2 separate regions of the Homo sapiens genome follow, and region 1 is linked to region 2. The links are contacts of gene promoters, found by promoter capture Hi-C in blood cells and fetal thymus (Javierre and others, 2016). All regions are on one chromosome and are shown on one strand. The core of a region is centred on a gene start or on the middle of the fragment in contact, and the rest is flanking DNA. Distances in the headings are between cores, read along the strand shown. Region 1 overlaps ATE1 (arginyltransferase 1). Region 2 holds the start of SEC23IP (SEC23 interacting protein).

The links. Contacts are between HindIII fragments. The CHiCAGO score rates a contact against its expected background, and 5 or more counts as called.
Region 1: a fragment that was not itself captured here is called in contact with the fragment with the promoter of SEC23IP in region 2 in 1 of 17 cell types (M2 macrophages); the score reaches 6.2 in M2 macrophages.

The regions. Positions count from the first base shown.
Region 1 is chr10:121,918,206-121,925,114 of GRCh38, forward strand. It overlaps ATE1 (arginyltransferase 1), which reads right to left. Exons shown (of 12, transcript NM_001001976.3): 2 at 6,061-6,124; 3 at 4,144-4,206. Among named protein-coding and RNA genes, the nearest start is that of ATE1, 6.4 kb to the right of the region's middle. The HindIII fragment of the contact is 1,089 bases long and covers 4,741-5,829 here.
Region 2 is chr10:119,887,930-119,894,269 of GRCh38, forward strand. SEC23IP (SEC23 interacting protein) reads left to right here and starts at 4,801. Exons shown (of 19, transcript NM_007190.4): 1 at 4,801-5,016. The coding sequence starts at 4,854. RefSeq lists enhancers at 1,177-1,715, 3,516-4,027, 4,028-4,538, 4,539-5,049. The HindIII fragment of the contact is 6,362 bases long and covers 2,773-6,340 here.

The DNA.
Region 1 (6,909 bases), core at 4,035-6,534, 2.0 Mb after region 2:
GCCTGTAGTCCCAGCTACTCAGGAGGCTGAGGCAGAAGAATCACTTGAACCTGGGAGGCGGAGGTTTCAGTGAGCAGAGATCGCGCCACTGCACTCCAGCCTGGGAGACTAAACAAGATTCTGTCTCAAAAAAAAAAAAAAAAGATGATGTATAATGAATTACAAAGAGACGCAATTCAGGAAACATTTGATGCCACGTAAAATGCAAAAATCACATAACTACTTTATTTTGCAATGTTAATGAATCCCCTTTTATAAAGGCAATATGCTTAGAATAGTGCTTTCCATGTAACAGGCACCAAATACAATTTAGATTCTTTTTTCTTTAACCAATCGAAATCACCCTTTTCTGATCACAGATTAAGCCAATCAACTTCAAACTTATGAATAGAATCCTGTCCATAATCCAATAAATTGCTAATTGAAGACAAATGACTTCTGCCTTAGAAGATACCTTCTCTTTATAACCACGAAAACTGAAAGAGGACAGCACAGGATACTCTGTCATTCTATTCTTTGTGTAATGACACAGTGTCAGCAAACCAGACCCCATTTTTCTCATCCTCTGCCAATCCAACGGCCAGCTGGACTTCTGGGTCGGGGCGGGGGTGGGGGGGACGTGAAGAACTTTTCTTACAAGAGGATTGTAAAATGCACCAATCAGCTCTCTGTAGCTAGGATTGTAAAACGCCCCAATCGGCGCTCTGTAGCTAGCTAGAGGATTGTAAAACGCACCAATCAGTGCTCTGTGGCTAGAGGTTTGTAAAATGGACCAATCAGCACTCTATAAAATGGACCAATCAGCACTCTATAAAATGGACCAATCAGCACTCTGTAAAATGGACCAATCAGCAGGACATGGGCAGGGACAAATAAGGGAATAAAAGCTGGCCACCCTACCCAGCAGTGGCAACCCACTAGGGTCCCCTTCCACACTGTGGAAGGTTTGTTCTTTCACACTTCACAATAAATCTTGCTGCTGCTCATTCTTTGGGTCTGCGTCACATTTAAGAGCTGTAACACTCACTGCGAAGGTCTGCGGCTTCATTCTTGAAGTGAGCGAGACCAAGAACCCACCAGAAGGAACCAACTCCAGATACACCAGCACTTTGGGGGGCTGAAGCGGGCAGATCACCTGAGGTCAGGAGTTCGAGACCAGCTTGGCCAACATGGTGAAACCCATCTCTACTAAAAATATCAAAAAAATTAGCCAGGTGTGGTGGTGCACGCCTGTAATCCCAGCTAGTCGGGAGGCTGAGGCAGGAGAATCGCTTGAACACGGGAGGCAGAGGTTGCAGTGAGCCGAGATAGCACCACTGCACTCCAGCCTGGGCGACAGCAAGACTCCATCTCAAAAAAAAAGCTCCTAATCAAGTATCAGTGAACCTTTGGGAGTCTGCGATCATTCTAAAATTAACACGCAAAATGTGCTGGGCATGGTGGCTCACGCCTGAAATCCCAGCACTTTGAGGTGGGTAGATCACGAGTTCGAGAGTAGCGCGGCCAACATGGTGAAACCCCGTCTCTACTAAAAACACAAAAATTAACCAGGCCTAGCGGTGGGCATCTGTAGTCCCGGATACTCAGGTGGCTAAGGCAAGAGCACTGCTAGAACCCAGGAGGCGGACACTGCAGTGAGCTGAGATCACACCACTGCACTCCAGCCTGGGTGACACAGCAAGACTCAGTCTCGGTGGGGAGGATATGCAAAATGTTACATATTTTTGTCTACATCCCTTTGGGCAGGAGGCCAGCTCTCATCGACTTCTCAAAATGGTTTGCAACCCAAAAACAAGTTAAGAGCAACCAAGGGAGACAGCTTTGAGGACCAAACAAAAAAACTAATGGACAAAAAACTGTTTAATTTTTTAATTTTTCATTTCTTAAAGTAAAACTGTCTTTTAATTTTATGAGTATATATACACATTGAAATTGGGGGCAAATACATGCTTCAAAATGTTAACGCACTTTTCACATTTTCTATCAAAAAAAAAGGTTCAGGTGCAGTAGTAGCTCACACCTATAATCCCAGCACTTTGGGAGGCTGAGGCAGGAGGCTCCTTTGAGCCTAGAAGTTGGAGATCAGCCTAGGAAACATGGCGAGATCAGCCTAGGAAACATGGTGAGATCTGCCTAGGAAACATGGCAAGACCCCTTTTCTATAAAAAAAAATGTAATTTGCCAGGCCTGGTGGTGTGTACCTACAGTCCCAGCTACTTGGGAGGCTGAGGTGGGAGGATTACTTGAGCCTGGCAGGCAGGCTGCAGTGAGCCATGGTTGTGCTACTGCATTCCAGCCTGAGCAAGACCCTGTCTCAAAAAAAAAAAGAAAAAAGAAGAAAAAGATGATGATGACCTTATAACCAGAATAAGAGAGAAGATTTTTCTATGTTAGGGTGAGGTGAGAAGGTACATGGAAAATCCAAAAGATTATGAAAAAATCCAACGAAGACTTTGTAGGAAAATAGACTTTGGTTTAAGTTTCCCATTTAAGAAAACTGGACTCTGGGCCAGGTGCAGTGGCTCACGCCTGTAATATCAGCACTTTGGGAGGCTGAGGCAGGTGGATCATGAGGTCAGGAGTTCAAGACCAGCCTGGCCAACATAGTGAAACCCCATCTCTACTAAAAATACAAAAAATTAGCCGGGCGTGGTGGCAGGCACCTGTAATCCCAGCTACTCGGGAGGCTGAGGCAGGAGAATCACTTGAACCCAGGAGGCAGAGGTTGCAGTGAGCCGAGATCGCGCCATTGCACTCCAGCCCAGGCGACAGTGCGAGACTCCGTCTCTTTAAAAAAAAAAAAAAAAAACTGGACTCTAAGTGTAAGTGGCAGATTAAATTTAAGCCCTCTTCCTTCCAATTAATTTTTTTTTCAACTTTTATTTTAGATTCAGGGGGTATAGGTACAGGCTGGTGACCTGGATATATTGCATGATGCTGAGGTTTGCAATATGGATGATCCCACCACCCAGGTACTGATCGTCATACCAAGTTGGTTTTTCAACCCTTAGCTCACGCCCTCCCTCCTCCTCTAGTAGTCTCCAGCTTCTACTTTTGCCATCTTTATGTCTGAGTACCCAAGGTTTAGCTCCCACTTATAAGTGAGTGAGGTGGGAAATTAAAGAAAAATAAAATTAAAAAGAAAGATAAATAAGCTTTCCTGTATTAGGCCGACTTGTCCCAGAGGCAGCAACAGGCACGGCCCAGACCCAGGAAAAGCCTTGATAATATTATCTAGTGTGCTCTGGAGATTCTCCCAGCACTCAACATGCAGAGAAGAAAAAATAAATTTTCCTTTGTTTTACGGAATGAGTTCATAGATTCCTGTTCTCTGTAACTAGTGACTTCAAGTATTGTTTTATCTGAGAAGTACAATGAATGTCATGAGAAGCCTGAGTAGGCCTGAACTGCAGCTGCCTGGGCACCATAGTGAAGATTATGGGATAAGCCCAGGCAAACCTAGATAACGGACATCTGGGTTGCTTGGCAACGGTCATGTGCAATCCTGAGTTTGTCCTGCCTCTGTATCCCTGCTTTCACGCCACTGTAAGCTTGCTTCAAGCTAGCCCACCCCCTTCTGTGAACTGTGTATAAAAGTCTTTGTTCCGGGCCCAGTCTTTTAGACGTTGAGTCAGCTGGGCCTAAGTGCACTCAATAAAGTTTCTCCTGTTTTAACCCGAGGTCTCTCTTGTCCTCCTGAATCCCACAACATGAGAACGTGAACCTACCAAGTAATTTATAGGAGCCTGTAGCATTGCTTGAACACAAGCACTGTGTCAAGCAATACACCAGAATGCAGAAAATTCTAAGCTAAGTCCTATAATATTTAATATCCAAAAGTAATGTGAATATTTACCAACATTTTCCCAATATTTCATGGCATTCATTGACAAGATTGCTAAATTAAGAGGGTATTTTTTTCACATATTTATATCTGAACCAATCAAACAATATTACTAAAACCTACTGATCAGCACATAAATACAGCATCAGTATGAAGAAAAGACATAACTCATTTACTTTTCCTTTTAAAGGACATCTACCTAGAGCGGAAATAAACATTAAAAAAGCACAAGAGACTACTAAAATATTATACACAATCTTCATACTATAAATCCTCTTTCTACTAATTAAAATTCTTACCTTATTGTGTACTGAGGACAACATGTTTGATTCATGACAGGTTTGTACACATATTTTCCACTTCTAAAATTATAAAAATAGTTTGTTAATGTCTTATATATTTTTCACTTGCACCAAAACAGCCTAGCACAGGAGCATTAAATTAAGGTTAAAAATCTAATCAACATTGTAGAAATGCATGTAGGTTTAATTACTCTTCATAAGCCAAATAATCTTCAAAGTGCGTGTAGCAAAGTTTAGAACCCTGCCTTTTATTTCCTAAAGCTTTACTTGTGTACCCCACGGCCAATCATCTCAGTTCCCCTCTCACCAGCATCTGCCACCCCTGCTCTGCCTTCACCTGCCACCAATCCCCAATACCACAAGGGCAATGAGAGAAATGCCCACGATGCTGTGGGACTCATGTATGTGATGCCTGTGACAACCACACTTGGGTATTCCACATGCACCAGCACGGAGTACCCCAAAACTAACCCGCTTCTTTCCATGCATTCCAGGTCTATGGTACTAACAGAACTGTTCATTCTGTTCTCAAGTCAGAGACCTGGGAGTCATTTTAAACTCCTCCCTGGAATTCACCTCTATATCCTATTAGCAAGCTTTCCTTCATTTTAAACCCTATCCTAAATTGTCCCCTCTTCTCTATCACCATTGCCACTAAGGTGACAGTCCTCATCATCGCACATCTGGATAGCGCAATAACCTTTGAACTCATCTTCCTGCCTCTATGACCCCCCCTCAAATACCTCTCAGCCATCTGAACAATCTTTTCTAAAACAAATTCCTTCACATTTCTCTCTTACCATAAAATCCTTCCATGACTGCCTTCTAAAAAGTTCTGGCCAGGCATGGTGGTTCATACCTATAATCCCAACACTTTGAAAAGCTAAGCTGGAAGAACACTTGCAACCAGATGTTCGAGACCAGCACGGGCAACATAGCCAAGATCTTACAAAAAACTGAAAAATTAGCCAGGTGTTGTGATGCACACCTGTAGTCCTAGCCACTGCAGAGGCTGAGGCAAGAGGATCACTTGAGTGTGGGAATTTGGGGTTACAGTGAGCTATGATGATGGCACTGTACTCTAGCCTGGGCAAGAGAGCGACTCTAGCCTGGGCAACAGAGCGAGACCATGTCTCTAAAAAAAAAAGTTCCTTATCATGGCATGTGAAGTCCTTTAAAATCTGACCTATGTCTACCTTTTGAATCTCATTAAGTTTAAGGAAAGTTGTGATATTTCAGCTGGTGCTCCCAATCCCACGTCTTTGGCAAGTATTAGCGTACAGTATTTAATATTACTTATATTTACACAAGGAACTTTACCTAAGAGTTACTTAAAAATCATCCACATAAAAATAACTACTCAAAACAGGCCATGTGTGGACTTTAAGGAAATCCTTATCCAAATAAACTGTTAAAGAAGACATTTTTGAGACAATCTGGAAAATCTAATAAAAAGTAGGTAACAGGTAACATCAAAGAATTTTTATTAATTTTGTAAGGTGTGATACAGCATTGTGGATAAGTTAAAAAGAAAAAAAGACCTCTCTCTTAGAGATACATACTTATTGCCTATCTATTGATAGGATAAATGTCATAATAACCTACTGATGTAATTTGCTGTTAAATATTAAAAGGTGGAGCAGGAGAATCAAACATGATTGGCAGAACGTTAATAACTGCTGAAGCTTAGTGATAGGTACTTGAGGTTCATTCTAATGTACTCTCTGCTTTTATAGATATTTGACATTTTCCTAACAAAGTTTTTTAAAAAGGAGACAAAAAATCACTACATAAAAGAATATAATAAAAATTTTTCTTAAACCTCTTTCCAACAGGAAAGCATTTCAAAGGCATGCTGTATTTTTCAAGAACCTGAGTAACAGTAGGAAGTCTCTTTGTATCTGGAAGCTTTACCTTCGCCATCCTCGGTCTATGAGATCCTGATAATCCTGTACTGTCATGGAATGTGCCCACATGCCTGAAAAAATAAGTAGTGTGTTAATTACGGCAGGGTAACCTTTTTTCTTTTTTAAATTCAAAGTGTGAGGTTTAAAAATAGGAGTGTGTGTCCGGGCACGGTGGCTCATGCCTGTAATCCCAGCACTCTGGGAGGCCAAGGCGGGCAAATCACAAGGTCAGGAGTTCAAGACCAGCCTGGCCAACATGGTGAAACCCCATCTCTACTAAAAATACAAAAATTTAGCTGGGCATAGTGGCGGGCGCCTGTAATCCCAGCTACTCAAGAGGCTGCAGCAGGAGAATCACATGAACTCGGGAGGCGGAGGTTGCAGTGAGCCAAGATCACGCCACTGCACTCCAGCCCTGGCGACAGAGTGAGACTCCATCTCAAAAAAAAAAAAAAAAATAGGAGTGTTTAGGTTAAAATTCCAAAACACTCATATTGGATAAATGAAAAGTTTGTACATACTTCACAGCTGTTAGTTGGGCATACACACAGCACAAATAAAGAATGACACTATATATATTTTCATTCAAAAAAACACATCGAAGTTAATTATATTTATTTGAGGATTAGTCAATAGTCTCTATGACAGCATAAATTTAAGTCCTCACTGCAATCAGACTGCATCAGACCTTCAAACTTTAATAAATATCCCCAATGATTTAACATGCTGGTCTCTTCAGAAAACTTAGCAAAATGTTTTGTGCTTATTAGTTCTCCTGATTTATATACAGGTATATATTTACAGTACAGTCTTGAGCATCAAAAATTGGAGAAAAGTATGTAACAATATTCCTTCT
Region 2 (6,340 bases), core at 3,551-6,050:
CAAGGAGACCCAGAGGGCAAATACTCATCTAGTAGAATGGGAACCAGAGGCAGAAACAGCCTTCAAAACTTTAAAGCAGGCCCTAGTACAAGCTCCAGCCTTAAGCCTTCCCACAGGACAAAAACCTCTCTTTATATGTCACAGAGAGAGCAGGAATAGCTCTTGGAGTCCTTACTCAAGACTTGAGGGACAACCCCACAACCAGTGGCATACCTAAGTAAGGAAATTGATATAGTAGCAAAAGGCTGGCCTCACTGTTTATGGGTAGTTGTGATGGTGGCCATCTCAGTGTCAGAGGCTATCAAAATAATACAAGGAAAGGATCTCATTGTCTGGACTACTCATGATGTAAATGGCATACTAGGTGCCAAAGGAAGTTTATGGCTATTAGACAACTGCCTGCTCAGATACCAGGCACTACTTCTTGAGGGACCGGTGCTTCAAATACGCATATGTGTGGCCCTCAATCCCGCCACTTTTCTCCCAGAGGATGGAGAACCAATCAAGCATGACTGCCAACAAATTATAGTCCAGAGTTATGCTACCCAAGAGGATCGCTTAGAAGTCCCCTTAGCTAATCCTGACCTTAACCTATATACTGATGGAAGTTCATTTGTGGAGAATGGGATACGAAGAGCAGGTTATGCCATAGTTAGTGATGTAACAATACTTGAAAGTAAGCCTCTTCCCCCAGGGACCAGCACCAAGTTAGCAGAACTACTGGCACTTACCTGAGCCTTAGAAAGGGAAAAAGAATAAATGTGTATACAGATAGCAATTATGCTTATCTAATCCTACATGCCCATGCTGCAATATGGAAAGAAAGGGAGTTCCTAACCTCCGGGGGAACCCCCACTAAATACCACAAGGAAATCATGGAGTTGTTGCATGCAGTGCAAAAACCCAAGGAGGTGGCAGTCTTACACTGCTGAAGCCATCAAAAAGGGGAAGGAGAGGGGAGAACAGCAGCATAGCAGCATATGCGGCTGGCAGAAGCAGGGAAAGACCAGCAGAGAGAAGGAAAGAAAGAGAGAAAGACAGAAAGTCGAAGAGAGAGAGAGAAAGAGACAGAGACAAAAAAGGAGTCAAAGAGAGAAAGAGACAGAAAGTCAAAGAGAAAGAAAGAGAGAAAGGGAGAGAAGTAGTAAAGAAAAAACAGTGTACCCTATTCCTTTAAAAGCCAGAGTAAATTTAAAACCTATAATTGATAATTGAAGGTCTTCTCCATGACCCTGTAACACTCCAACACCACCTGGTTGTCAGTGTAAACAAGGGCATAGCCCGAAAGCACTGAGGCCACTGACAACCCATAGCCTTCCTATCAAAAATCCTTAACCCAGCAGGTTTCCTAACAGGGGATCTAAATCTTAATTACCATACAAAGGTCCAACCAGATCTAGGAGGAACTCCCTTCAGGACAGGACTATAGCTGGTTCCTCCCCAGCGATTAAGGGAGAAAGACACAATGAGTATTCAGTAAGTGATAAGGAAACTCTTGTAGAAGCAGAGTTAGGAAAATTGCCTAATAATTGGTCTGTTCAAACGTGCTCCAGCTATCAGTACTCAGCCAAACCTTAAAGTACTCACAGAATCAGGAAGAAGCCATCTATACCAATTGTAAGTTAATATGGATTGAACAAGGTCTTATTAATACAAAGAATAATTGAAATCCCAAACTTACAAGGTTTTCAACAAAAGTAAAGTTTGCTAAAAGTTAACAGTGTAACATATATTATCCTACTACCACACACTCTCAAAGGATTTCTCAGACAGTTTGCAAGAAATAACAAAATCTATCCTTATTCTACAATTCCAAATAGACTCTTTGGCAGCAGTGACCCTCCAAAACCACCGAGGCCTAGACCTCCTCACTGCTGAGAAAGGAGGACTTTGCACCTTCTTAGGGGAAGAGTGTTGCTTTTACACTAACCAGTCAGGGATAGGATGAGGTGCCGCCTGGTGTTTACAGGAAAAGGCTTCTGAAATCAGACAACGCCTTTCAAACTCTTATATCAACCTCTGGAGTTGGGCGATATGGCATTTCCCCTTTCTAGGTCCTGTGATGGCCATCTTGCTATTATTCACCTTCGGGCCCTGTATTTTTAACCTCCTTGTCAAATTTGTTTCCTCTAGGATTGAGGCCATCAAGCTACAGATGGTCTTACAAATGGAACCCCAATGAGCTCAACTAACAACTTCTACTGAGGACCCCTGCACCAACCCGCTGGCCCTTTGACTGGCATAAAGAGTTCCCCTCTGGAGGACACTACAACTGCAGGGCTCCTTCTTCAACCCATCCAGCAGGAAGTAGCTACAGAGGTCATTGCCCAATTCCCAACAGCTCTTGGGGTGTCCTCTTTAGAGGGGGGATTGAGAGGTGAAGCCAGCTAGACTTCCTGGGTTGAGTAGGGACTTGGAGAACTTTTCTGTCTAGCTAGAGGATTGTAAATGCACCAATCAGTGCTCTGTGTCTAGCTGAAGGACTGTAAATGCACCAATCAGCACTCTGTAAAAACACACCAATCAGTGCTCTGTGTCTAGCTAGAAGATTGTAAATGCACCAATCAGCACTCTGTAAAAATGCACCAATCAACACTCTGTGTCTAGCTAAAGGATTGTAAATGCACCAATCAGCATTCTTTACAATGGACCAATCAGCGCTCTGTAAAATGGACCAAGCAGCAGGATGAGGGCAGTGACAAATAAATAAATAAAAGCTGGCCACCCGAGCCAGCAGCAGCAACCCAGTCAGGTCCCCTTCCACGCTACGGAAGCTTTGTTCTTTCGCTCTTCACAATAAATCTTGCTGCTGCTCACTCTGGGTCTGTGCCACCTTGAAGAGCTGTAACACTCACCACAAAGGTCCGCGGCTTCATTCTTGAAGTCAGTGAGGCCAAGAACCCACCGGAAGGAACCAACTCCGGACACATGACCACTGAGAACTGTCTTCTCAAGGACCTGGGGGTTTGTCTCTTGAATTGCAAGCCTTCAAGGAGGTGGTTCTCATTCTCATTCCCAGTCCCTGTGGCTACCTTGCTCTCTTACACCACTGCTTGTCATGAAGACAGAAAAATTATGTCTCCTCTGGATAAGCATGGATTAACACACCCAGATGGCCTAGTTGCAGGACGAACCAACCCTTCACACTCCTCAGCACCTTTCCCTTAGCACACCACAGCCTCTAAAAAGCCTCCAAATTTTTGTTTCAGCAAAGTTGTGTTCAGTTCATGCTGGACCCAATTCCCTAGCAATAGTTTTCATTAAATAAAATCTAATTTACTGCTTTAACGAGTGTCCCACTTAAAAAATTTTTCTTGACAGTAAGCACATGAAATCGTTATTGAATTAATAAACTTAGGTTCTATATATGTGTAAACAGCTGAGCAGAGTTTCATTATTTTGAGCGTTCTTTTGGTATCTCCTCTCCCAACCTCCAAGAAGCTGAAATATGGCTTAAGTTATATTTTCCTTCAAAATCTCTAACTATGAAAGATGACAATTATGTCCAAGTTATCCACAGTACCTCCTGGATTGAAGTAAGTCAGCTTACTGTGGATATAGAAAGCTATCTAAAATGTCAGATCTCTAATTTCAATGCCCTGGTTTCTTTTTTTTTCTTTTTTTTTTTTTTAAGGAGACAGGGTCTCGCTGCACAGTGAGTGGCAAGATCAGGGTTAATTTGGCCTCAAGCAATATTCCCGCCTCAGCCTCCTGAGTAGCTGGCAATATAGGTGCTATGCCACCAAGCCCGGCTAATTTTTGTATTTTTAGTAGAGACGGGGTTTCACCATGTTGGCCAGGTTGGTCTCAACCTTCTGGGCTCAAGCTATCCTCCCGCTCTGCCTCACAAAGTGCTGGGATTGCAGGCCTGCGCCATGGCGTCTGGTTTGATTTCTCTTTTAAATATTTTTTTTGGCCAGGCGTGGTGGTTCATGCCTATAATCCCAGCAGTTTGGGAGGCCAAGGCGGGCAGATCACGAGGTCAGGAGATTGAGACCATCCTGGCCAACCCGGTGAAACCTCGTCTTTACTAAAAATACAAAAAATTAGCCAGGCGTGGTGGCGGACGCCTGTAGTCCCAGCTACTCGGAGGCTGAGGCAGGAGAATCGCTTGAACCCGGGAGGCGGAGATTGCAATGAGCCCAGACTGCACCGCTGCACTCCAGCCTGGGCGACACAGCAGACTTGTCTCAAAACAAAAAACAAAACCAACCAAAAAAACAAAAAACAAATGCAAAACAAAAAACAACAAAAATAAAACGAAATATTTTTTTCTCCCTATGGATTAAACACTTAAAAAATGTTTTACCACTTCTATTTCTGGGTCAACCACAATGTTCGGTTCCATCCAGAAAGACAAGTGGGTTTTGGAGAGGGTGTTTGGTTCCGCCTAGCATGCGAATTCCCATTCCCGCACAACGCTCTTCCTCCCTTCCTCCTTCCGGTAGCGTCCAGCAGGATTCCGCTGTTCCTCCAAAATCTTTGTCAGGAGAGCCATCCTGACGGTACCTTTAGGAAGCCCATAGATACCCGCCACAACCTGTGACTTTCAGGGTCAATTGCGTCTCAATTCGCACGTCTATCCAGAACCTGCGGGGACCACGTCCCCATCCTCCCGCCCGGCCTCCGCCTCCGAGGGTGTCACGTGCTAGACGCGGGCGTGAAGACAGTGTCGCCATGTTGATATCTGGCGTCGCCGTGTAGGGGAAGGGAGAGGGCGGCTGACTAGCTACCCGTAATTTCGGCTCCTGTGCGCAAGTGCGGAAGTGCGCTGGCCAGGAGCGTGATCGGTTTCCGGTCAGTGGTGTGGTACCGGGTACCCGGAGACGTGTATCGGACGGTGGGCCGCAGCCATGGCCGAGAGAAAACCTAACGGTGGCAGCGGCGGCGCCTCCACTTCCTCATCGGGCACTAACTTACTTTTCTCCTCCTCGGCCACGGAGTTCAGCTTCAATGTGCCCTTCATCCCAGTCACCCAGGCCTCCGCTTCTCCGGCCTCCCTGCTCTTACCGGGAGGTAATAAGGGGAGGGCGGCCCCGTGTGTGGTGGGAGGCGGGCGGGGGACGTGCAATGACAAAGGTCAGACGGGAGTTTTTCCTTCTGCCTCGAGCTACCCTCTGGATAGCTTGCCAGGATCATTACTGGCCAGGTTTGAGTGGGTCGGGGGCTTTGGGATCTTGGAGGTGGCAGGTGATGAGACTTGCTCTTCACGGAAACCCCCTGTTCCGAGTTGTCCAGAGTGCTGGACATTCATTCGTACCCTGGCATTCCGCAAATCTTTGCTGAATACCCGTTGTTGGTACGCCAGGTGCTGGCAGGAAATGCAAATAAATTAAACAGTGGCCCTCTCCTAGGGTACAGTAGTCTGTCTCCCACTAGGAGACTCCTAGGATACGGTAAGATACCTCCTAGGATGGACTGTGCCCCTCTCCTAGGATACGGTACACTGTCTCCTACTAGGAGATTGTTGTGATACAGTACAATATCTTCTAGGTTACAGTAAGATATCTTATAAGATGGACTGTGCCCCTCTTCTAGAAGCCTGTAATATTTGTGAAGTAGACATATACAATGCATTCCTTATCTTTTTTTTTTTTTTTTTTTTTTTGAGACGGAGTCTTGCTCTGTCGCCCAGGCTGGAATGCAGTGGCGCGATCTCGGCTCACTGCAGCCTCCACCTTCCAGGTTCAAGTGATTCTCCTGCCTCAGCCTCCCGAGTAGCTGGGACTACAGGCGTCTGCCACCATGCCTGGCTAATTTTTGTATTTGTAGTAGAGACAGGGTTCCACCATGTTGGCCAGGATGGTCTCAATCTCCTGACCTCAAGTGATCCGCCTGCCCTGGCCTCCCAAAGTGCTGGGATTACAGGTTTAACCCCCCACCCATTCCTCATCTTTCAAGACAATACATCACTTCTTCCAAGAAGCTGTTTCTTGTTCTCTTAGGCCCCCACTCCTATGTGCACTCCTAGCTCTTTTTTCATATTTGTATTATTGTCCAGGGAGATTGCTTTTTGATGATTATGTAGCATTGCCCAGAGCATAGTGTTTAAGAGCACAGACTGTCTGTATTCCAGTCCTTGCCCTGCCAGTAACTTGCTGTGTGACTGTAGGCATTTTACTTTACCTCTCTGTGCTTCAGTTTCTATGTATGTGTAGCCTCACAGAATTGTAATTAGAAATGCTTTAATTTTTGCAAAGCGCTAAGTATAGTGCGTGCCAGACAGTGTGATTTAATGTTTGTGAAATAAACACACCTGCCTCTCCATTTGGACTGCAGTCTTCTTCAGCAGCTATGACCTAATTGCCTTTTTATCTCCAGGATCTTATTTAGGGCCTAG